Regions from separate parts of the Homo sapiens genome. Here regions 1, 2, 3, 4, 5 and 7 are each linked to region 6. Evidence: promoter capture Hi-C in human tissues and cell types (Jung and others, 2019). All regions are on one chromosome and are shown on one strand. The core of a region is centred on a gene start or on the middle of the fragment in contact, and the rest is flanking DNA. Distances in the headings are between cores, read along the strand shown.

Evidence for each region. Contacts are between HindIII fragments. The study calls those that stand out against the background at their distance.
Region 1: a fragment that was not itself captured here is called in contact with the fragment with the promoter of CPPED1 in region 6 in 2 of the 25 tissues and cell types used here (dorsolateral prefrontal cortex and hippocampus).
Region 2: a fragment that was not itself captured here is called in contact with the fragment with the promoter of CPPED1 in region 6 in 2 of the 25 tissues and cell types used here (H1 embryonic stem cells and mesendoderm cells).
Region 3: a fragment that was not itself captured here is called in contact with the fragment with the promoter of CPPED1 in region 6 in 1 of the 25 tissues and cell types used here (hippocampus).
Region 4: a fragment that was not itself captured here is called in contact with the fragment with the promoter of CPPED1 in region 6 in 2 of the 25 tissues and cell types used here (dorsolateral prefrontal cortex and mesenchymal stem cells).
Region 5: a fragment that was not itself captured here is called in contact with the fragment with the promoter of CPPED1 in region 6 in 4 of the 25 tissues and cell types used here (H1 embryonic stem cells, dorsolateral prefrontal cortex, mesendoderm cells and 1 more).
Region 7: a contact is called between a fragment that was not itself captured here and the fragment with the promoter of CPPED1 in region 6, in 1 of the 25 tissues and cell types used here (mesendoderm cells).

The regions. Positions count from the first base shown.
Region 1 is chr16:12,161,562-12,164,618 of GRCh38, reverse strand. All of the region lies in intron 13 of SNX29 (sorting nexin 29), which reads right to left. Among named protein-coding and RNA genes, the nearest start is that of SNX29, 190 kb to the right of the region's middle. RefSeq lists an enhancer at 881-1,381. The HindIII fragment of the contact is 5,369 bases long and covers 1-3,057 here.
Region 2 is chr16:13,476,735-13,479,695 of GRCh38, reverse strand. It overlaps a transcript of SHISA9 not described here. Among named protein-coding and RNA genes, the nearest start is that of ERCC4, 440 kb to the left of the region's middle. The HindIII fragment of the contact is 5,385 bases long and covers 1-2,961 here.
Region 3 is chr16:12,179,333-12,182,250 of GRCh38, reverse strand. All of the region lies in intron 13 of SNX29 (sorting nexin 29), which reads right to left. Among named protein-coding and RNA genes, the nearest start is that of SNX29-AS2, 190 kb to the left of the region's middle. The HindIII fragment of the contact is 7,033 bases long and covers 1-2,918 here.
Region 4 is chr16:12,139,061-12,142,088 of GRCh38, reverse strand. The region is part of intron 13 of SNX29 (sorting nexin 29); the gene reads right to left. Among named protein-coding and RNA genes, the nearest start is that of SNX29, 160 kb to the right of the region's middle. The HindIII fragment of the contact is 4,224 bases long and covers 1-3,028 here.
Region 5 is chr16:13,496,165-13,498,864 of GRCh38, reverse strand. It overlaps a transcript of SHISA9 not described here. Among named protein-coding and RNA genes, the nearest start is that of ERCC4, 420 kb to the left of the region's middle. The HindIII fragment of the contact is 3,360 bases long and covers 1-2,700 here.
Region 6 is chr16:12,802,378-12,805,471 of GRCh38, reverse strand. It overlaps CPPED1 (calcineurin like phosphoesterase domain containing 1), which reads left to right and starts at 1,585. Exons shown (of 4, transcript NM_018340.3): 1 at 1,585-1,765. The coding sequence starts at 1,696. RefSeq lists a silencer at 1,504-1,553 and an enhancer at 1,634-2,003. The HindIII fragment of the contact is 16,943 bases long and covers 1-3,094 here.
Region 7 is chr16:13,557,813-13,560,512 of GRCh38, reverse strand. It overlaps a transcript of SHISA9 not described here. Among named protein-coding and RNA genes, the nearest start is that of ERCC4, 360 kb to the left of the region's middle. The HindIII fragment of the contact is 7,677 bases long and covers 1-2,700 here.

The DNA.
Region 1 (3,057 bases), core at 39-2,538, 640 kb after region 6:
TCCAAGCCAAATGCTCAGGCTGCCCATACAGCTTCCAAATGCTGTATGGCCCCTTTCAAAGTGAGAAGTTTCAAGAAATATTATCAACCAAAAAAGTACATACTTGTAAACAGTACTCAATCTTCTCAAGGTTGTAATGCTAGGCCAGGGGCAAAAATGTAGCAGTTGAACTTCTCAAAATCACGAACCTACAGGATCAAGGATTCCCAAGTACATCTTATAAATCCTTATTACAGTCATTCACTATCGCACGGGTTTTCTTAAACCAGCATAACTAGTACTCTATTAACCAGAAATCTTGGTCAACTGGAAATTCTGTTTTCCAAACTCCACTCAAATGCCTTATTTCGTACCTCATTGCCCTCTCACATTCTGCTCTGCGCCCCTCTTGACATTTCTTCCATACCCCACACTCATCCCTACCCCAGGGCCTTTGCATATGCCCTTCCCTGTCTTCCCCCAGACACTGGGAGAGCTGGTTCCTCCTCATCCTTCCAGTCTTGGCTCCTTTGTGCCCCTACACACACACCGCACCTCCAAAATGCTTTCCCCAACTAAGAAAGCAAACCCTCCCAACCAAAAGATATTCCCACTCCATAGGTCCTTTGCAGATTCACATCATCATCTTGTACTGTCTTCTTGAGAGCTGTACTACCTGTGACCTCATTTTTCAATTACTTGTTAACATCTCAGTTCTCCCCACCCCACTCCTGTAGAATGTCCAAATCTGGACACACCCTCTCCTCACCTACACCTGCTCATCCTCTGCACCACGGAACAGTACCACCATCGAGCAAGCCAGAAACAGAGCCTGCATCAGCTTATGGTCCGTTCTCTCCAACAGAGACCGCAGGATGTGCCGAGGCAGGGAACAGTCCTCAGCCCTGGCTGAACAAAAGGTTCGGTTTAACAAATACAAATCCTCCCAAGACCCCACCCTAGACCAAGACCCATGTGGGGCAAGAAGCTTCTATAGAGGGAAGCTTCTACAGGAGATTTCTAGTCTCCTGTTGCCACCAGCCCCTCCATGACTCTCCACACTGCTCTCAATGGAAACGCCTCTCTAACCATGTGAATTCATCGGTGCTGCATCCTCAGTGCTGCTCCATCGCCTAGAGGATAATGACCCACCACCAGGCATGGTGTGCAGGCCTCTGGTCTGGCCTCTGTCCACTTGAGCTCCTCTCCAGTCACCCTCAACACCCTGGGTAGCAGAGTCTAGTCCGTCAAACACACCAGGCCCTCTCAAGCTTCTCGTAAAGCCCTCCTCCCTGCTACCCCACCTCACCCACCTGCCAAACCCCTAATCAGCCTTCCAGACGCAGCTCCAGTGTTCCCTCCTCAGGGAGGCCAGTCCCGCCTTTCTCAGCAGGGTGACCCAATTCACCCTGGGGGCTCCGCAAAGGACATTCCTATCTACCATCAGAAGCAACAACTGGCCAGACGCAGTGGCTCACGCCTGTAATCCCAGGACTTTGGGAGGCCAAGGTGGGCGTATCACCTGAGGTCAGGAGTTCGAGACCAGCCTGGCCAACATGGTGAAACCCCATCTCTACTAAAAATACAAAAATTAGCTGGGCATGGTGGTACATGCCTGTAGCCCCAGCTACTTGGGAGGCTGAGGTGAGAGAATCACTTAAACCCTGGAGGCGGAGGTTGCAGTGAGCCAAGAGCGTACCACTGCACTCTAGCTTTGGCAACAGAGTGAGACTGTCTCAAAAAAAAAAGAAAAACAAAGCAACAACTATGTTGTGTGATAAACACGTGCTTGCCGGCCCTCCAGGGTGTTGCCGCTGCCCAGCACCATGACCTGCATGGAACAGGCATTCCTGGGTCTGCATTCAGGGAACAGTTACTACGCACCTCCTACGAGCCAGGCCCCGTTCAAAGCACTGGACCCAAAGTGAACAGGACACACAAGACCCCACTGCCTTCAGGCTAGCTCAAGGTCATCAACTATGGCCCACAGGACAAATCCAGCCTGTTGTGTATTTTTTGTGGCTTCTTAAATAGCTTTATTGAATAGAATGTGCCTACCACACATTTCTGCTCTGTTTCTGTGAATGAAGTTTTAGTGGAACACAGGCATGTCCACTCATTTATGTAATGTCTCTGGCAGCTTTCTTGCTACAACAGCAGACTTCAGTAGTTGTGACAGAGACCATATGGCCTGCAAAGCCAAAAATATTTACCCTCTGCCCCTCAACAGAATATATTTGCCAACTCCTCATCTACTTAGGAGGGTGTGGATGCCCTGGACAAGCCCAGTCAGCCAACCAAGTATTGATCATTTCAGAGGGTCAAAGTGATATAAAGAAAATGACGCATGGTACTAGGATGGACGATGAGAGGGTAAACAGACGAGGCCCCTCGGAGGCGCTGACATGTGTGCTGAGGCTGGACACCCTCAGAAGGAGCCGACCGTGCTGAGATCTGAGGGAAGAGTGTTCAAGAAGGGAGCCATCACGTGCAAAGCCATCCAGTTGGAACAAGCCTGGTGTTTCAGTCAAAGCCCGGCAGGAAGTAAGTACATGGCACCATCAAAGGGGTTGATGGTGAGGTTTAATAGACCATTTACAGAGGAGCAAGGTGAAAAGAAACCAACAGGGGTGGTGAGGGATTCGGGGGCCGACAATTGTGGAAAGACTGTATTAGTCCATTTTGCATTGCTCATCAGGAATACCTGAGGCTGGGTAATTTATATGGAAGGGAGGTCTATTTGGTTCACAGTTCTGCAGACTGTGTAAGAAACGCGGTCCAGCACCTGCTTCTAGTGAAGCCTCAGAAAGCTTTCAGTCATGGCAGAAGGCATAGGGAACTGGCGTGCCACAGGCAAGAGAAGAAGGGCGGGCAGGGAGGGTGGAAGTGCCAGGCTCTTTTTAAGTAACCAGTTCTGGCATTAACTAATAGAGCAAGAACTCACTCATGACCAAGGGGGAGTGTGCTAAGCCATTCATGAGGGACCCACCTGTCCCCGTGACCCAATACTTCCCATCAGACACCACCTCTGACATTAGGAATCACATTTTAACGTAAGATTTGGAGGGAACAAACATC
Region 2 (2,961 bases), core at 210-2,709, 670 kb before region 6:
CGCATCCTCATGCAGCCGTGAGGAAGGGAATATAACTGCTGCAAACTAGCTCGTGATTAGCATGTTATGGAGTTAACAGGTGAATAATGAAAGTATATATATATATGTATAAATTAATTGCATGATGAAATGGAGGGTTCTAAATGATGCAGGTGATTGCAGATTACCTGGTGGAATATAGATTATTTTTAGCAAGTGTTTCAGTGACATCTCCTAGAGTCAGTTTATTGGATTTTATAAAAGAAAATTTGCAGCAACAAATTCTGGGGCCCCTTGTATCAGCCTCAGCAAAATCAAGGCAGTATGGGATATAGGCTGAATAAGGGCATCCAAAGCATGTCTTTACCTTAATACCCAGACCTATGAATATGCTACCTACATGGCAAAAGTGGCTTTGCAGACATGATGGAGTTAAGAATCTTGAGACAGGGAGATTATCTTGGATTATCCAAGAGGGCTCACAGTAATCACAGGGGCCCTTAAAAGAGGGAAGCTGGAGAGTTAGATTCAGAGTCAGTGAAAGGGACGAGACAAAGGAAACTGATAGGCGCCGTGCAGGACCATAAGCCGAGGAATATAAGCAGCTGTTAGAAGCTGGAAAAGGCAAGGAATGGGATTCTTCCAGTAGGAGGCCATGATGACACCTTTATTTTCACCCCATGAAAATAATTTAGAACTTCTAAACAGACACAGACCTGTAAACATGACAGACTTGTGTTGTTTTAAGACACAAAGTTTATGGTAATATTCCACAGCAGCAATAGGACACTAATACAATGTGTTACCTGCAGAAACATCAGATGCACTAATGGTGGATCAGAATCGCCCAGGTGGCTTATTGAGTACAGGTCCCCAAGCACCACTCCCAGATATTAGGATTCATTAGATCCAAGTCCAGCCTTCGAGCCCGCATTCTTAACACCCTTTCTTTTCCAATTATCTAGCCTGTACCGATGTAGAAAGGCTTAGTAATACTCATGTAAGAAGATGAAATCCAGAAAGATCTGTTGTTTTTCAAAAGCTGGGTGAAGGTTTATGGAATATGTTTGGCAGAAGTACTAACTAAATCATAAATAAATTTTTTACAAAATCCTAGACTATTAGAGTGGAACAGACCTTCCAGGATGATCTAGTTCAATGCTTGCATTTTACAGCTGCAGGAACTGATGCACAAGGAAGTCCAGTGTTTCTAGGGGGTAAACTATAGAGTTCAAGTCTGGCCCAGAGGAGTCCAGACTTATAGGACCCTAAGAATTAGGTCAAAAGGGATTTGACCTAAACAACAGGGAAAGCCTGGTTCTTAGGGTGTGATCTTTTGCTTTGTGAACACAGCACTGATTTGCAAGTGTATATTTTTTTCTTAAGATTCCAGACAATTCCATAAAGAAGCCCAAAACTCTCAGCACTAAGAGGTGAGCTTTGGAGACAATCTTTGAAACAGAAAGCATAAGAAACAGGAGGATGCCCCTCAGTGACTCAGGATCTCTTTTATGTGTTTTGAAATATACACAGACATGAGATGCCGTCAAGACCCCAACATGTTTCCCCGGCAGGTTCCTTTTTCAGTTAAAGAAACAACCGGATGGAAGAGAGACAGAAAGGATTTCAGAGGAAAATGCGATGTCGCTCAAACAAAACAGGATCCATGATCAGAATGTAGCAGGTCCCCAGAAAATAAGAGGGAGAGAAAACCAACACAGTCTAGTCTTTTGTTCATTTTACTTATTTTCTGAGATGGAGTCTCGCTCTGTTTCCCAGGCTGCAGTGCAATGGTGTGATCTCAGCTCACTGCAACCTCCACCTCCCGGGTTCGGGCCATTCTCCTGCCTCAGCCTCCCAAGTAGCTGAGATTATAGGTGCACACCACCATGCCTGGCTAAGTTTTGTATTTTTAATAGAGAAGGGGTTTTACCATGTTGGTCAGGCTGGTCTTGAACTGCTGACCTCAAGTGATCCACCTGCCTCGGCCTCCCAAAATGCTGGGATTACAGGCATGAGCCATCGCGCCTGGCCCAATATAGCCTTTGAAGTGCACATTTCAGTTGGCATTCTGCATTGGGAAATACTTTCGTTTTGTTTGTGGAAGAAGGAAAGGAGAGAGAAAATGTGTGGTGCAAAGAGGCTTTGAAATGACTTGCCTTTGGGGCCAGGTTGGGATCTCTTTCTCCAGGCTCACCTCCCCCCACCACCTTTTTCACTTTATGGTCCAAACACATCATAGTTCCCTGCACTTGCCATGTTGTTTCAAGCCTCTGTGATTTTATATGGATTGCTCTGTCTGCCTTAGAATTCTTTTTCTTTCCTTTTGCATGGCAAAATCCATTTCCTTTTCCTTTTTCTCTATCACTTTCTCTGAGAGAGCTTTTCTAATAACTTTTGCCCAGTCTGTGTAAGGTACCTTCCCATGTGACCCAACAATGTCCTGTGCCTCTATCACAGCCCTAAGTCTACTGCATTGAAATAATTGTTTATGATTATATTTTCCAACTAGACAATGGGGTCCTTGTAGACAGGGAGATCTATTACTCATTTTTTATTTCTCCAGCGACAAGTCCAGTTCCTGACACCTTGTAGGTATGCAATAAGTGTTTACCAAGACTCCTGCAGTAATCACTGGTGGACCACGTAAGAACATTGTTCAAAAGAAAAAAAGGCTGGGCGCAGTGGCTCACGCCTGTAATCCCAAGTTTGGGAGGCCGAGGCGGGCAGATAATGAGGTCAGGAGATCGAGACCATCCTGGACACAGTGAAACCCCGTCTCTACTAAAAAATACAAAAAATTAGCTGGGTGTGGTGGTGGGCGCCTGTAGTCCCAGCTACTCGGGAGGCTGAGGCAGGAGAATGGCGTAAACCAGGGAGGCGGAGCTTGCAGTGAGCCGAGATCACGCCACTGCACTCCAGCCTGGGCGACAGAGCGAGACTCCGTCTCAAAAAAAAAAAAAAAAAAAAAAAAAAAACACA
Region 3 (2,918 bases), core at 309-2,808, 620 kb after region 6:
TGACAGCAGAATAATTTTTTAATCTCTCAAAATCCCCATTAAAAAAAAAAAAAAAAAAAAACTAGGCCGGGCACAGTGGCTCATGCCTGTTATCCCAGCACTTTGGGAGACCGAAACAGGTAGGTCACCTGAGGTCAGGAGTTCAAGACCAGTCTGGTCAACATGGCAAAAACCCCATCTCTACTAAAAATACAAAAAAATTAACCAGGCGTGGTGGCGCATGCCTGTAGTCCTAGCTACTTAGAACAGTGAGGCAGGAGAATCGCTTGAACCCCAGAGGCACAGGTTGCATTGAGCTGAGATCGTGCCACTGCACTTCAGCCTGCGTGACAGAGTGAGACTCCGTCTCCAGAAAAAAAAAAAAAAAGGCAGAAGCCCACAGACAGCATTTACAACAACGCTAGGTGACAAGGTACCCCCATAAACCCCAAAATATAAGCAGGCAAGGATAAAGTCACAGCCACAAGGCCTACATGGTATCTGCGTAGAACACAGAGGCAAGCGACAGATCTGATGAAAAGCCCTGAGGAGGACCCCCCCTCAATCACCAACAGACCTCCCAAAATCACCAACAGGCCCCCAAATCACCGGCAGCCCCCTCCCCGCAAATCACCAACAGGTGCTCCTTGGAAGGAAAGTGAAAGGAAAAGAAATCTTGGGGCCCCCATATCACTAAGCTAAAGGGAAAAGTCAAGCTGGGAACTGCTTAGGGCAAACCTGCCTCCCATTCTATTCAAAGTCACCCCTCTACTCACTGAGCTGAATGCCTATCTGGTTGCCTCCTTTGGAGAGGCTAATCAGAAACTCAAAAGAATGCAACTATTTGTCTCTAATCTACCTAGGACCTGGAAGCCCTGCTTCGAGTTGTCCCGCCTTCCAGACCGAACCAATGTTCATCTTGCATATGTTGATTGATGCCTCATGTCTCCCTAGAACGTATAAAACCCAACCATGCTCTGACCACCTTGGGCACATGTCCTCGGGACCTCCGGAGGCTGTGTCATGGGCACGCCCTCAACCTTAGCAAAATAAACTTTCTAAATTAACTGAGGCCTGTCTCAGATATTCGGGGTTCATAAAAGCGTGGTGGGCCACGTTGAGAAGTGCAGTAAAGCCAGGAGATTCTTCCTCTCCCCTAGCAGGTGAGCGCAAGGAGATCCACGGTAACCCAGGCCCACCTCCACTGACTCTCAAATCTGTACTGTCAGGACTCCCTTCCAGGACTGGGCCCTGCAGTGAGGGAAAAAGCTACAGAAGCAGAATCACAGTTTAGCAGGAGCGAGACATTAGAGAAGAGGGAAAAAGAAGATCCAGATGAAATGGGGGATAAGAGCCAGGAAAGCTCAGAAAACAAGCTGCAGTATGCCTAACACCACACGAAATCCACAGGAGAGAGAGCTCTGCTCCCTCTACCACGCCTCTCTCCTAAAGTTTCACTTCCTAACTACACATAAAGAGAAGCAACGGGCCAGGCGAGGTGGCTCACACCTGTAATCCCAGCACTTTGGGAGGCCGAGGCCGGTGGATCATGAGGTCAAGAGATCGAGACCATCCTGGCTTACACGGTGAAACCCCGTCTCTACTAAAAATATTTAAAAAATTAGCCGGACGTGGTGGCGGGCGCCTGTAGTCCCAGCTACTCGGGAGGCTGAGGCAGGAGAATGGCGTGAACCCGGGAGGCGTAGCTTGCAGTGAGCCGAGATCGCGCCACTGCACTCCAGCCTGGGCGACAGAGCAAGACTCCATCTCAAAAAAAAAAAGAGACAGAGAAGCAACAAAGAAGTATCCAATAAAACCATACACAATATTATGAGGAGAAACAGAATAAGTAATAGAATATAGCTGCAGATAAAGATGCGCCAGAAATTCTCAAGTGACTTTGACCTACTGCAAAACAAGCTGGAGACAATACAAAAATGACATAAAAGAACAACGTACGCCAGAACCAGAAAAATGCAGCGAGGTAACCAAACTCAGAACATTAAAGAAAGTATTTCAGAAATGAAGACCAACCTAGAAGGAACACCTAGAAGATGAAAAGAGCAAGTTTGTTTTTTGTTTGTTTTTTTTAGAAAAAGAAAAGGATATGAAGAAAGGGATAGATTTGAGAGGAAGTGACAAATACTGAAGACAGGTAAATAAGATGAACAGAAAACAGAAGCCCCTGGAGAAGAAACCAAAATAACAGGTACTAAAAACTCAATTCAAAAACACTTTGTTGGAATAAAGAGACCCGAAGTTCCACATTGAAAGAGACTGAAAGAACATGCCATGTACCTGAAAATACTGACGGAATGACTAACACCTAGATATAGTCTAGTAAAATCGCTGACGTTTAGAGAAAGAAGAGTTCCTTTGGGCAAGTCTTCTAAGGAGAAGACTTTGACAGCAATGCCTCAAGAAAATGTAGTAACATATTTAAGACTCTCAGAAAATGTGACCTACAAATTTTTGGATCCACAATACTGATTTGTAAGTATAAAGAGCACAAACTAGTAACAACGTGTAACAACTCTGGGAATACTGTAACCATCAACAGTCCCTTGCAGAATCCGTCACAGATGAAGCTTGCAATAACCTAAACGACTAGCAACATACCAACAGAGAACTGGTGGAAAGCATTAAACATAAACTCAAGATGAGACCAGGATTCAAAAGGAATGAGTAAAGTATATACTGGCCATAGGCTCAGGTAAAGTAGATTTAAAATGAATATTTTCTTAAAATGGAAGAAAACAGGGAAACATATGCCAGTTTGTCTGTTTTTGAGACAGGGTCTCACTCTGTCACCAAAGCTGGAGTACAGTGGCGCCATCATGGCTCATTCAGCCTCCAACTCCTGGGCTCAGGCGATCCTCTTGCCTCGGCCTCCCGAGTAGCTAGGCCTACAGGTGTGCACCCCCACACCTGGCTAACTT
Region 4 (3,028 bases), core at 361-2,860, 660 kb after region 6:
AAAGAGAACACTTGGGAAAGAGCTAAAGCAGAGATTCTCACTGGGGGCCGTGGGGACAGTCTGGGTCATCACGAGGATGATGAGTGCTATTGTTGGAGGTGTTTGAACCATAACAGCTCCATCTGGAATAGGAGCTGGTTAAAATGAGGCTGAGACCCACTGAGCTGCATTCCCAGGAAGTGAAGCATTCCTAGTCACAGGATGAGATGGGAGGTCAGGAGGACTGGTGTCATTAGATACAGGTCACAAAGACCATGACGATAAAACAGGATGCTGTAAGGAAGCCAGCCAAAACCCAGCAAAACCAAGATGGTGATAAAAGTGACCTCTGGTCGTCCTCACTGCTCATTATGTGCTAATTAGAATGCATAAGCATGCTAAGGACATTCCCACCAGCACCATGACAGTTTACAAATGCCACGGCAATGTCCGTAAGTTATCCTACATGGTCTAAAAGTGGGAGGAACCGTCACTTCCAGGAAATCCTGCCCCGAGCCTGGAAAACTCATGAATAATCTGCCTTTTGTTTAGCATATAATCAAGAAATAACCATAAGTACTCTAAGTCAGTTGGTCCATGCCGCTGCTCTGTCTGCGGAGTAGCCCTTCTTTTGCTTCTTTACTTTCTCTAATAAACTTGCCTTCACTTTAAGCACTTGCCCTGAATTCTTTCTTGCACAAGATCCAACAACCCTCTCTTGGGATCTGAATCAAGACCCCTTTCCATTAGCACTACCAGCATTTACAGCATAGAGCCGAGGATACTAACTGTCCTGAAAGGCCAAGGCAGTACCACACAACCAAGATCAGCCTACTTCCTGCAACACTTCAATCGTCCTGTGGCCATTCATGTAGGCGGAAACCTTACTCATAATCTGAGCCTAGAAAGGAATGCCTTTCATATATACTGACTATGCCAGGTTTACTTTACGGTTCACCCACTCTCTGCTCTTTTTCTGGACTCCTTCTAAAGAATGACTTCTGATCTTCTTAACTTCTTAAAATCAAAACTCATCCATGAGAAGGAGGTGCAAGCACTTAGCGTCAGCATGTTTTCTAGCACAGTTGCGCCAGACCAATATGTACTGAAATCTATTTTGTATTATAAATTCCTTTCATTTCTCTTTCATATTAGAGTGTTATACTGATTTTTTAAATTACTTGTATAAGTAGGTTATATTCGCTATAAATTTCATTTCAGAAGGGGGCATTACCAAATATTTTTATTTAAAACAGATATTGAGTCTTCTAAGATCAAGTCCAAATATGCCAAAGTAGCTGGACCAGCGGTTTGCTAATAATGTCAGATTATATCAGACCGAAATATCTAGCCAAGGAAAAGCACAATGGAGAACACAGCACAGAGACCTTCGGGCTACCGCTTAGAATGGCTGAGCCCAGATTTCACCCACCAAGACAGGGTGCGCAAGACAGCTGGCACAAGAGTGACAGCACGGTAGTGTCACTCTGGAAAATGGACAGAATCCAAGCGTCACAAGCCCTCTGTGGAAGCAACCCACTGTCAGGGACATCTGCAGGCTGCACCTCACCGCATGCACCCCCAATCTGATGGGAGGAACATCCTGGTTTTCCTTTTAAGCAAACTCTCCTCCATCCTTGTTCCTGCTCCACGGAGTTCAGGTGAGGGAAAGCCAGCCACCCCCAGCTCCAGGGGGAATGGGACCCAGGCTTGGGCAGGAAAAGTAACACAGCTGGCCCGGGAAATGAGAGAGTGAATCCCAAGACTTCTCCAGAGCTACTGGAAAAAAGTCTTCTCCTCCCACTGGCATTGTTAAACTGATGGGATTTAGGCTGGGGCCCCTGGGGGCCCTCTTGTCACCACAAGAGAAGAGTTACCTAAGAATGAAGCCAAGACCGAGGGAAAGAGAGAGGAGACATGGAAAGTCATGGGGACTGCATGATATGCGTGATACCCCCTGAGAGCTTTGATCCAGCCCAGCAAAAAGCTAGCTCTTCTCCTGTAGGTTTAAGTTTCATGAGCGAATCAACTGCTCTTTTTCTTAGGCAGTTTAGGGTGGGTTTCTGTCACCTACTACTGACTCTAAGTGGTAAGATTCCTTTTCCTTTTTTTTTTTTTTTTTTTTTTTTGAGACAGGGTATCTCTCTGTCTCCCAGGCTGGAGTACAGTGGTACAATCTCAGCTCACTGCAGCCTTGACCTCCTGGGCTCAGGTGATTCTCCCACCTCAGCCTCCTGAGTAGCTGGGACCACAGGCATGCACCACCACGCACCGCTAATTTTTGTAATTTTTGTGTAGACAGGGTCTCACCGTGTTGCCCAGGCTGGTCTCCTGGGCTCAAGCTATCTGCCCACCTTGGCCTCCCAAAGGACTGGGATTATAGGCGTGAGCCACTGCACCTGGCCTCTATATGGTAAGATTTCAATGAATGGCTGAGGGGCTTCCAGAAAGCCCCAATTCCCAGAAAATGACTAAAAATACATCTTGGGGCAAACGACCATCCACAGGTCTAAAGCCCAGCCTAACTGGCTGCTTTGTGCCAAGAGAAGATGCCAACAGGAGGAGAACAATTAAGGTGCTGGAAGAATTGACATTTCTCAGTGACACTCATACCAAGTGACAGTCACTGGCCCCACGGTCCCTTCAATCCCTCATTTAGCCAATATGACTGAGCAATGCCAGGCACTGTGCTAGGTGCAAGGACGGGCCACTGCCCTCATGGATCGCACAGTCTAAAAGGGAAGACAGGCAGTGCGTGGATGACAACCCGGACTGTGACTGTCAGTAATAACGCTATTCAGGAATACCTACTCCCATGAAGCGTATCTCAGAGGGACCTGATCGGTCTCACGATCAGGCAGGAGATGCTGCACAAAGCCTTCCTCCCTTTTTTTTTTTTTTTTTTTTTTTTTTTTTAGAGTCTCGCTCTATCGCCCAGGCTCTGGAGTACAGTGGCCGATCTCAGCTCACCGCAGCCTCTGCCTCCTGGGCCCAAGTGATTCTCTTATTCTTCTGGAGTAGCTGGGATTACAGGTACACACCACAACAC
Region 5 (2,700 bases), core at 22-2,521, 690 kb before region 6:
TGGCACAACCAAGGAGTAATACCCTGGTGGATGTCTTCCATCTTACTACATTGGACATCTTTGAAAACAAATTCATGACTACCTTCTTTTCTTTTATTTTCTTTTTTTGAGATGGAGTCTCACTCTGTCACCCAGGCTGGAGTGCAATGGTGTGATCTTGGCTCACTGCAACCTCCACCTCCCATGTTCAAGTGATTCTACTGCCTCAGCCTCCCAAGTAGTTGGGATTACAGGTGCCCGCCACCATACTCGGCTAATGTTTGTATTTTTAGTAGAGATGGGGTTTTACCGTGTCGGTCAGGTTGGTCTCAACCTCCTGACCTCAGCTGATCCTCCCACTTTGGCCTCCCAAAGTGCTGGGATTACAGGTGTGAGCCACTGCGCCCAGCCGTGACTACTTTCTTAAGGTAGATTTCTGGAAGAATTATTGTGTAAAGGAAACTGAATATTTTTAAGACTTTTGAAACTTAGTTCCAACTTGTTTACTGCAAAGTTTACTCCAACTGCAATGTATGTAGTTGACCATGTCACTGTCTTTACACTACTAGCATTGAGGGGTAACAATTTAAAGCTTTCCTTCTATTTGTTTGATTTTTAAAGGCAGCCTTTTAAAAAAATTTTTGTTTATCTGAATAATAATGAAACTGATTTTTTTGGTATCAATTTGTCATTTAGGGTCCTTTTCTTCTACATTGTCTTTTCACATCCTTTGTCTATTTTTTCTGCTGAATGTTAATATTTTCCCATGGATTCATATGCTAAATACATTAAACTTTTATCTGATTTTTTTAATTTGTTGTTTTATTTTGTTTGTAATTTAAATAGATTCTATATTGTCAAATTTGTTGAGTGTTTGCTTTGTGATTTTTTTTCTATTGCTCACAAATTTCTCCCTCTTCAGATGCTAAATCTTTAATATTTTAAGATTTTATTCACGTATTTGCACTTATTTTAATCTGATTGGAATTTATTTTGGTATTTAAAGCTTGTTTTCTCCTGTAACAAATAGATAATTAATTGTCCCAGCACCATTTATCTTTTCTTTCACTGGTAACTGGTGCATCTTTTATGTTTCATGTATCTGTCTGTCAACTTGTCTGCTAGGATATTTTATGAAGTATCTTATTAAAATTTTAATTTGTCCTCTTCTTTTTTCTTTTTTCTTTTTTTTTTTTTTTTGGAGACGGAGTGTCACTCTGTTACCCAGGCTGGAGTGCAGTGGTGCAATCTCGGTTCACTGCAACCTCCACCTGCCGGGTTCAAGCAATTCTCGTGCCTCAGTTTCCTGAGTAGCTGGGACTACAGGCATGCGCCACCATGCCCGGCTAATTTTTTGTATTTGTTGTAGAGATGGGGTTTCACCATGCTGGCCAGGCTGGTCTCAAACTCCTGACCTCGTGATCCTCCTGCCTCGGCCTCCCAAAGTGCTGGGATTACAGGTGTGAGCCACCACATCCGGCCCCTCTCCTTTTCTTTATTGATTCATATGATGATGGATACCTGGGTTGCTTTTAGACAGATTTGGTAGACAGATATTTGTTGGACAGATTTAATCATTCCACATTGTAAACATGTATCAAAATGTCACACTGTACCCCATAAATATATACAATTATTTGTTAGACAGATTTAATCATTCCACATCGTAAACATGTATCAAAGTATCACACTGTACCCCATAAATATATACAATTATTATTTGTCAATTAAAAATAAAATTTAAAAAAAGATGAATAACAACAAAAATTGTAATATCTGGCAGGACAAGATGTTCCTTTTACTTGCCCTGTTTTTCCTCATATCTCTTGATCAGTCTCATCTGCTTATATTTTCAAATTAACTTCAGAATAATTGTATTAAGCTTTGAAGCAATCCTTTTTAGAATTCTGGTTAGCATTGAATTAAACGCATTAATTAACTTTGGAAGAAGTGACATTTTAATAATACTAAATTTTCCTATTTAGGAAAATGGCATATTGAGCTCTTCAAATCTTTATATATAGATAGACACTGATATATCTTCATCTCTTGGCCAAGATCGTGTGTGTGTATTTTAACCTTTAGTTCTGGATGTTTTGTTTTTATTTCTATTATTTCTACTCTGCATGGATTTTTTTTGTATTTTCTAATTGCTTTATGTCAAATACTACACAGGAAAAATGTAGACATACTGATTTTGTAACTCATCACCTCCAGACGATAATTATTGTTTCCAATTTTTTTCCAGCTCATTTTGTTTCTAAGTAAGCAATCGTATCTTATGGAAGCAGTGATGAACTTCCTTATTTTTTTTTCTCATGACCTATTGGATTTACTAGAAAATCCATAATGGTAATAAATAATAGTGGTTTCCTTATCTTATTAATAAATGAAAACTCTCTTTATATAATGTTGACCATTGACTTGAGATGGCTAAATAATTATTTTGAGACACTTTCATCTTATTCTAGTTGTACTAAATTTTAATTAGTTATGACGGTTGAGTTATCAAGTGCCTTATTGTTACTTAATCATAAGTAGCAATTATGATTACCTCATTACCTTATTATTATTATAACAACTTGGAAATTTGGTAGAGATGCTTAGGTCATAATCTTTCCTTCTCAAAACTTGATGTTATGGAGGAAAAAAAATGAGACTAGTTTGATGTTTTCATCTTTCCAGGTAAAACATTTTTTGAGTTGTTTTGTTTTGTTTTCT
Region 6 (3,094 bases), core at 336-2,835:
GTTTCCATTTCACAGATAGGGAAACTGAGGCATAGAGAAACTATGCAATTTTCAAGAGCATACAACCAGTAAGTGGGTAGAACCGGGATTAATCCAAGCCCACTGACTCCAGGACTCATAGGCATTTATACTCTTAACCACTATGATTCATGGGTGACTCTTGTCAAGGATTAGAGAACAGTAGTTATGGCCATATTAGCTACTCAAACAGTGCTTTGGATGTAGGCAGCTAGTTTAGAAAAGAATTTCCCAAATTTGTAAGATCATAAGAGCTCCCCTGCAGTGCTTGTTAAAAACAGATCATTTTCAGGCCAGGCACTGTGGCTCATGCCTGTAATCCTAGCACTCTAGGAGGCCCGGGTGGGTGGATTGCTTGAGCTCAGGAGTTCCAGATCAGCCTGGGCAACATAGTCAAACTCGTCTCTACTAAAAATACAAAGTATTAGCCAGGCATGGTGGCGCACGCCAATAGTGCCAGCCACTTAGGAGGCTGAGGTGGGAGAATCACCTGAGCCCAGGAGATCGAGACTGCAGAGATTGTGCCACTGCACTCCAGCCTAGGCAACCAGAGTGAGACCCTGTCTCAAAACAACAACAACAACAACAAAACACAGATCATTTTCATAGAGATTTGGATTCAATAGGTCCATTCTGGAATTTGTATTTTCAACACGTTTGACAAATGCTGGCTAAGTAGTTCACTACAATGGCTCTTGAGTTGAAGAGACACTAATTTGGTTACTCGCAGCTTTACTACCTCTCTAGATGTGTGTCACCTTGTGCAAGTTCGTTCATCTCTCTGAGCGTCAGTTTCCCCAAATGACGGATGCAGCTAATAACAGCACCACCTCCTAGGGCTGTAGTGGGGATTAAGTGAGCAGCGTGCAAAGTGCTTAGCGCCCTGCCTGGTGCATAGCAAGCAAAGATAATAACAGAAAGATGGTGGCAGCCACTGGGAAGTTCAGGCTGAGACAGTCTTCCAAGACGTCCACCTTTTCATCTTTTTTTTTTTTTTTTTTGTATTGGCAAGGTCTCTCGCCGTGTTGCCCAGGCTGGTCTCCAACACCTGGACTCAAGCGATCCTCCCTCCTTGGCCTCCCAAAGAGCTGGGGTTACAGGCGTAAGCCACCCCAGTGGCTCCTTCTGACTTTATGATAGAGTTGTCAGATAAAAAAAAATCAGGACGCTTCCATTCAAACCTGCAAAAAGAGAAAAATTTAAAAAAATTAGGACGCCCAGTTCAATTGGAATTTCAGATAATGAAAAAAAAATTTAACGTAAGTAGCTCCCAAATACTGCATAGGACATATTTATACCAAGTCAGTCATTCTTTAAAAAAAAAAATCTGAAATTCCAATTTAACCGGGAGTCCTGCATTTTTACTTGTTAAATCTAGTAACTCTGCCTTTAGGGAAGGACTGACCCCAAAGCCTTATCCCCGCCCACGCGTGCCCTAGACAGTCTCCACTCGCCAGGCGCGCAGGTCGATCCCAGAGGGGCCGCTGGCGCCTCCGCTCCGCCCAGGCAGCACTAGTGGCGCCCCGAGCCACCGGGCCCCTCCCCGTCCCGCCCCAGTCCCGCCCCGAGATCAAAGGGCGTCGCCCAAAGCGGGACAGGTCCAGCGGTTGTTCTGTGTGAAGTCGCGCGGCTTCCACCCACGCAGTGTTCTAAGTGAAGGCCAGAAACTCGCTCGCCATGTCGGCTGCAGAGGCGGGGGGTGTTTTCCACAGAGCCAGGGGCAGGACCCTGGCCGCGTTTCCCGCAGGTACTGCCCGCCCCTCACCCGGGGAGGGGACTCTGGGGCTGCGGAACCTTCCGCCGGGGGAACCTTTTGTTCAGGTGTGCGCTCCGCCAGTCGGACACCATCCGGGGCTGCACCGGGGCCTGGGAGCCGCCATAGCTGCATCAAAGCCTGCTCTTAGGGATTCCAGGGGCGCAGTTGAGAGGCGAGGCCGAGAGAGCGATCTGGTCTAGGAGCCTCCTTGGCCTTGACCTAACTTCCCCCAGAGAAGGGAAGTAAGAGGAGGGTAGCAAAGCATAGTTAATGACAGCTTGGACTCTGCAGCGAGACCTGGTTTCCAAGCTGTGCATTAGCATCTTGGCCTCAGCTTCCACATCTGTGAAACGGGAATACTTGTGGGTGTTACTGGATAAGCGTTCGGTGCATGTTAGAGGGTGTCGGTTTTATTAAGGTTGTTCACCGTTATGTATTCTGTACTCCATAATGACGTTTATTTAAGTCATTCACCGAAATGGTAACACTGCCCCATCAGAGCAGTAGAGAGGGAGGGCATTCGAGAGTCGTAGTGAAGTGCTTGGATTTTGGATTTAGATTATCTGCTTTGCCTTAAAAATGGGTTTGATAATACCTGCCTCATAGGGTTGTTGGAAGCGTAAACAGATCAAAAGTATTTTTGTAACCCGGTGTTGGACGCATGCTAGGTGCTAAGTAAAGAGGGAGGTTTGTTTCTGGTTTGTTGATTCCCCTCTGTGGCTTTTTGCTGCCTGCAGCCAGATCGCCTCCCAGGCTCTCACCAGCTTTATACCCCCAGGGAAGTCACCCTAAATGCCCTATATGATCAGGCTTGTGTCCACTTCCTTCAGGGTTGTCATTCTCTCTCTTGCCCAGTTCTGCAACAGGTTTTGTTGTTGCCCTTGTTTGAACTGCATTTAAAAGGGCCAAGGCCGTTCTTTCCCTGAGGGTCTTGGCGCTTGCTGTTTTCTGCTTCTTTAGCAGGGTTGGTGAGCCTGGCTCTCTCAACCGTCACACCTCATTTTAAAGTTCATTCACTTCCTCAGAGACTTTACCTGCTACCTTATCTAAAGTAGGTTTCTCCGGTAATTCTATGGTAAAACCTTATTTATTCATTTAAGGCGGAGTCTTGCTTTATTGCCCAGGCTGGAGTGCAGTGGCACGATCTTGGCTCACTGTAACCTCCGCCTCCCGGGTTCAAGCGATTCTCCTGCCTCAGCCTCTGGAGTAGCTGGAACTATAGGCACGCACCACCACGCCCGGCTAATTTTGTATTTTTAGTAGAGATGGGGTTTCTCCATGTTGGCCAGGCTGGTCTCGAACTCACAACATCAGGTGATC
Region 7 (2,700 bases), core at 77-2,576, 760 kb before region 6:
ACGTCTATATAGTGTGGAAAACCATTGTTTCTTGGTATTCATTCCCCTCTCCCGTCTTTCTACCATCCCTGAATTTCGATAGAAAATTCTTCAGGTGCTGATACCAATACTTAGCTCCATGATTAGACCATGTGATCCTGCTCAGCCAATCAGCAGCTTACACCCTCCTGGCTATGGTGATTGGTTCAGGGGTGACCACATGACTTAAGCCAGTCTAATTACAGTGAATCTCAGGTGAGAATCTCCAGGTGGGAGTGCTGGACCATAGAAGCTCTTTTCTTCTGAATGCTGTGTTGGGAAGATACTAAGCCTTAGACTCCTGTACACAGTTTGCTAGTGAGAGAAACCAAATCGAGCTAAGAGATTTGCAGAAAAGCAGAGCTGCAAAACTGCTACCCCAATGCTATTTTCAATCCACATTTGAAATTCACCCTAATTCTGGACTTCTCTGTTGCCCAAGTCAATGAATTCTCTCTCTTGTTTATTTTAAAGCAAGTTTATCTTTTCATTACTTGGAACATGAAGTCTTGACTGATAAACAGAGTTCCTCTTTATTCCCCATTAACTTTTTCCTGAGAGAGCTACTGCTGAAAATCAAGTCAATCTTTCCAGTTGATGTGACTGACTTTAGCTGAAGGTGCAGTCTGCCTTTTCATCTTCTAGGAATATCCCCTACCTTTTCTGTAATCCAGCCTGTCAGCATTTATTGAACAACCACTCTGTTCTAAGCCCTGAGCCAGATGCTCTGAGACATCCCAATAATAACAAAGATCATGTCTGTAAGGTGCTGGAAATATAGTAAAATGGAATGGCTTAAGAAATCCATGCTCAGCTGGATGTGGTGGCTCATGCCTGCAATCCCAACACTTTGGGAGGCCGAGGTGGGAGGTTTGCTTGAGATGAGGAGTTTAAGACCAGCCTGGGAAACACAGAGAGACCCTGTCTCTAGAAAAAATATATATATAAAATTAGCCAGACATGGTGTCACATGGCTATAATCCTAGCTACTTGGGAGACTGAGGTGGGAGGATGACCTAAGCCCAGGAGTTTGAGGCTGCAATGAGCTATGATTGTGCCACTGCACTCCATTTTGGGTGACAGAGCGAGAATGTCTCTGAAAAAAAAAAAATAGAAAATGCAGAAAAAAGAAAAAAAAAATCCATGCTTGCTTTGACCCCAGTTTGCTGTGTGATCTTGGGCTAATCACTACCCTTCTCTGGGCTTTAGCTTCCCATCTACAAAATGAGGGCAGTGGTTGACAGTTCTCTAGAATCGTTTCTAGCATTCACATCCCACATCTCTGTGTGCAAATAATTTAAATAAACTCGATACTGTGTCTGGTCAAAATAGATATCTTCAGGCTTATTTATGTCACCAATATTTGTTAAGAGTGTATATATTCTAGGAGCTAGAGAGAAAGTGGTGAACAAAACAGAAAAACACCTGCTTTCTTGGAGCTTACATTGTGGTGGGGAAGGCAAATAATAATTATCTTTGTAAACTATAAATTGATCTTCATTATTCCCAGACTCTGTATTTGTGAATTTGCTTACTTGCTAAAATTTATTTGTAACCCCCGAATCAATACTCGTGACACTTTCACAATCATTCACAGAAATGTGCAGAGCCCTGAAAAATGTTAATCAGGTGATGAAAACATTCCTAGCTTAGGGGAAACGGGGCAACACTCTGCCATCTTGTTTCAGCTGTCATACGATAAACAAATATCTTTTTTTGTAGTCTGTTTAGTGCCATATTTGTCACATTTGTGTGCTTTTTCTTGGTGACTTTGCTGTTTAAAATTGTTCCCCAAATAAAGTGTGGAAGTGCTACCTTGTGTTCCAAAGGCTGTGACATGCCTGAAGAAGGACATACATGTGTTGGATAAGTGTTGCTCAGGAACGTGTTACTGTACTCTTGACTGTGAGCTCAGTGTTAGTGAATCAGTATATGTTACATAAGATGCCTTTAAACACATATATACAAAAAACAAGGTTATGCATTGATTGATTGATAAAAATGTTGTGGTCAGAGGCTTGCAGGAACCCAACCCTGTATTTCTCTTAGGAGCCATGGCTCAGGATTGGCTAATTGGGAGTTGGTGGTGACTTTACTGAAAATAACAAGAAGTGACTATGTACAATGTCACTTTCTTGTTATTGATAAATAAGCCTGAAACTATGTATTTTGACCAGCACAGCATCAAGCTTATTTACATTATTTGCACCCAGAGATGTGGGATGTGAATGCTAGAAAGGATTTTAGAGAATTGTCAACCACTGCCCTCATTTTGTAGATGGGAAGCTAAAACCCAGAGAGAGATAGTGATTAGCCCAAGATCACACAGCAAACTCGGGGCAAAGCAAGCATGGATTTGGTAAGAGCTGTAGAAAAATGCAAAGCAGGGAAGCAGAAAAGGAAGTTTATATTTTATTCTTTTCAACTTTTAGTTTAATTTTTTTTGGTCTCTGTCACCCAGGCTAGAGTGCAGCAGCACAGTTATAGCTCACTACACCCTTCAATTACTAGTATCAGGTGATCGGAAGCCTATAGTTTAAAAGGGTGTCAGAAAAGTGTGTCCATGCAGAGGAAAGGGCAAAAATGAAAACCCTGTGGTGGGAGTGTGTTTTCATGTTTGAGGAGCTGCCTGAGGCTGCGGTGGCTGGAGAGGAGTGAGCCAGGGGGACAGTGGGAGAAGAT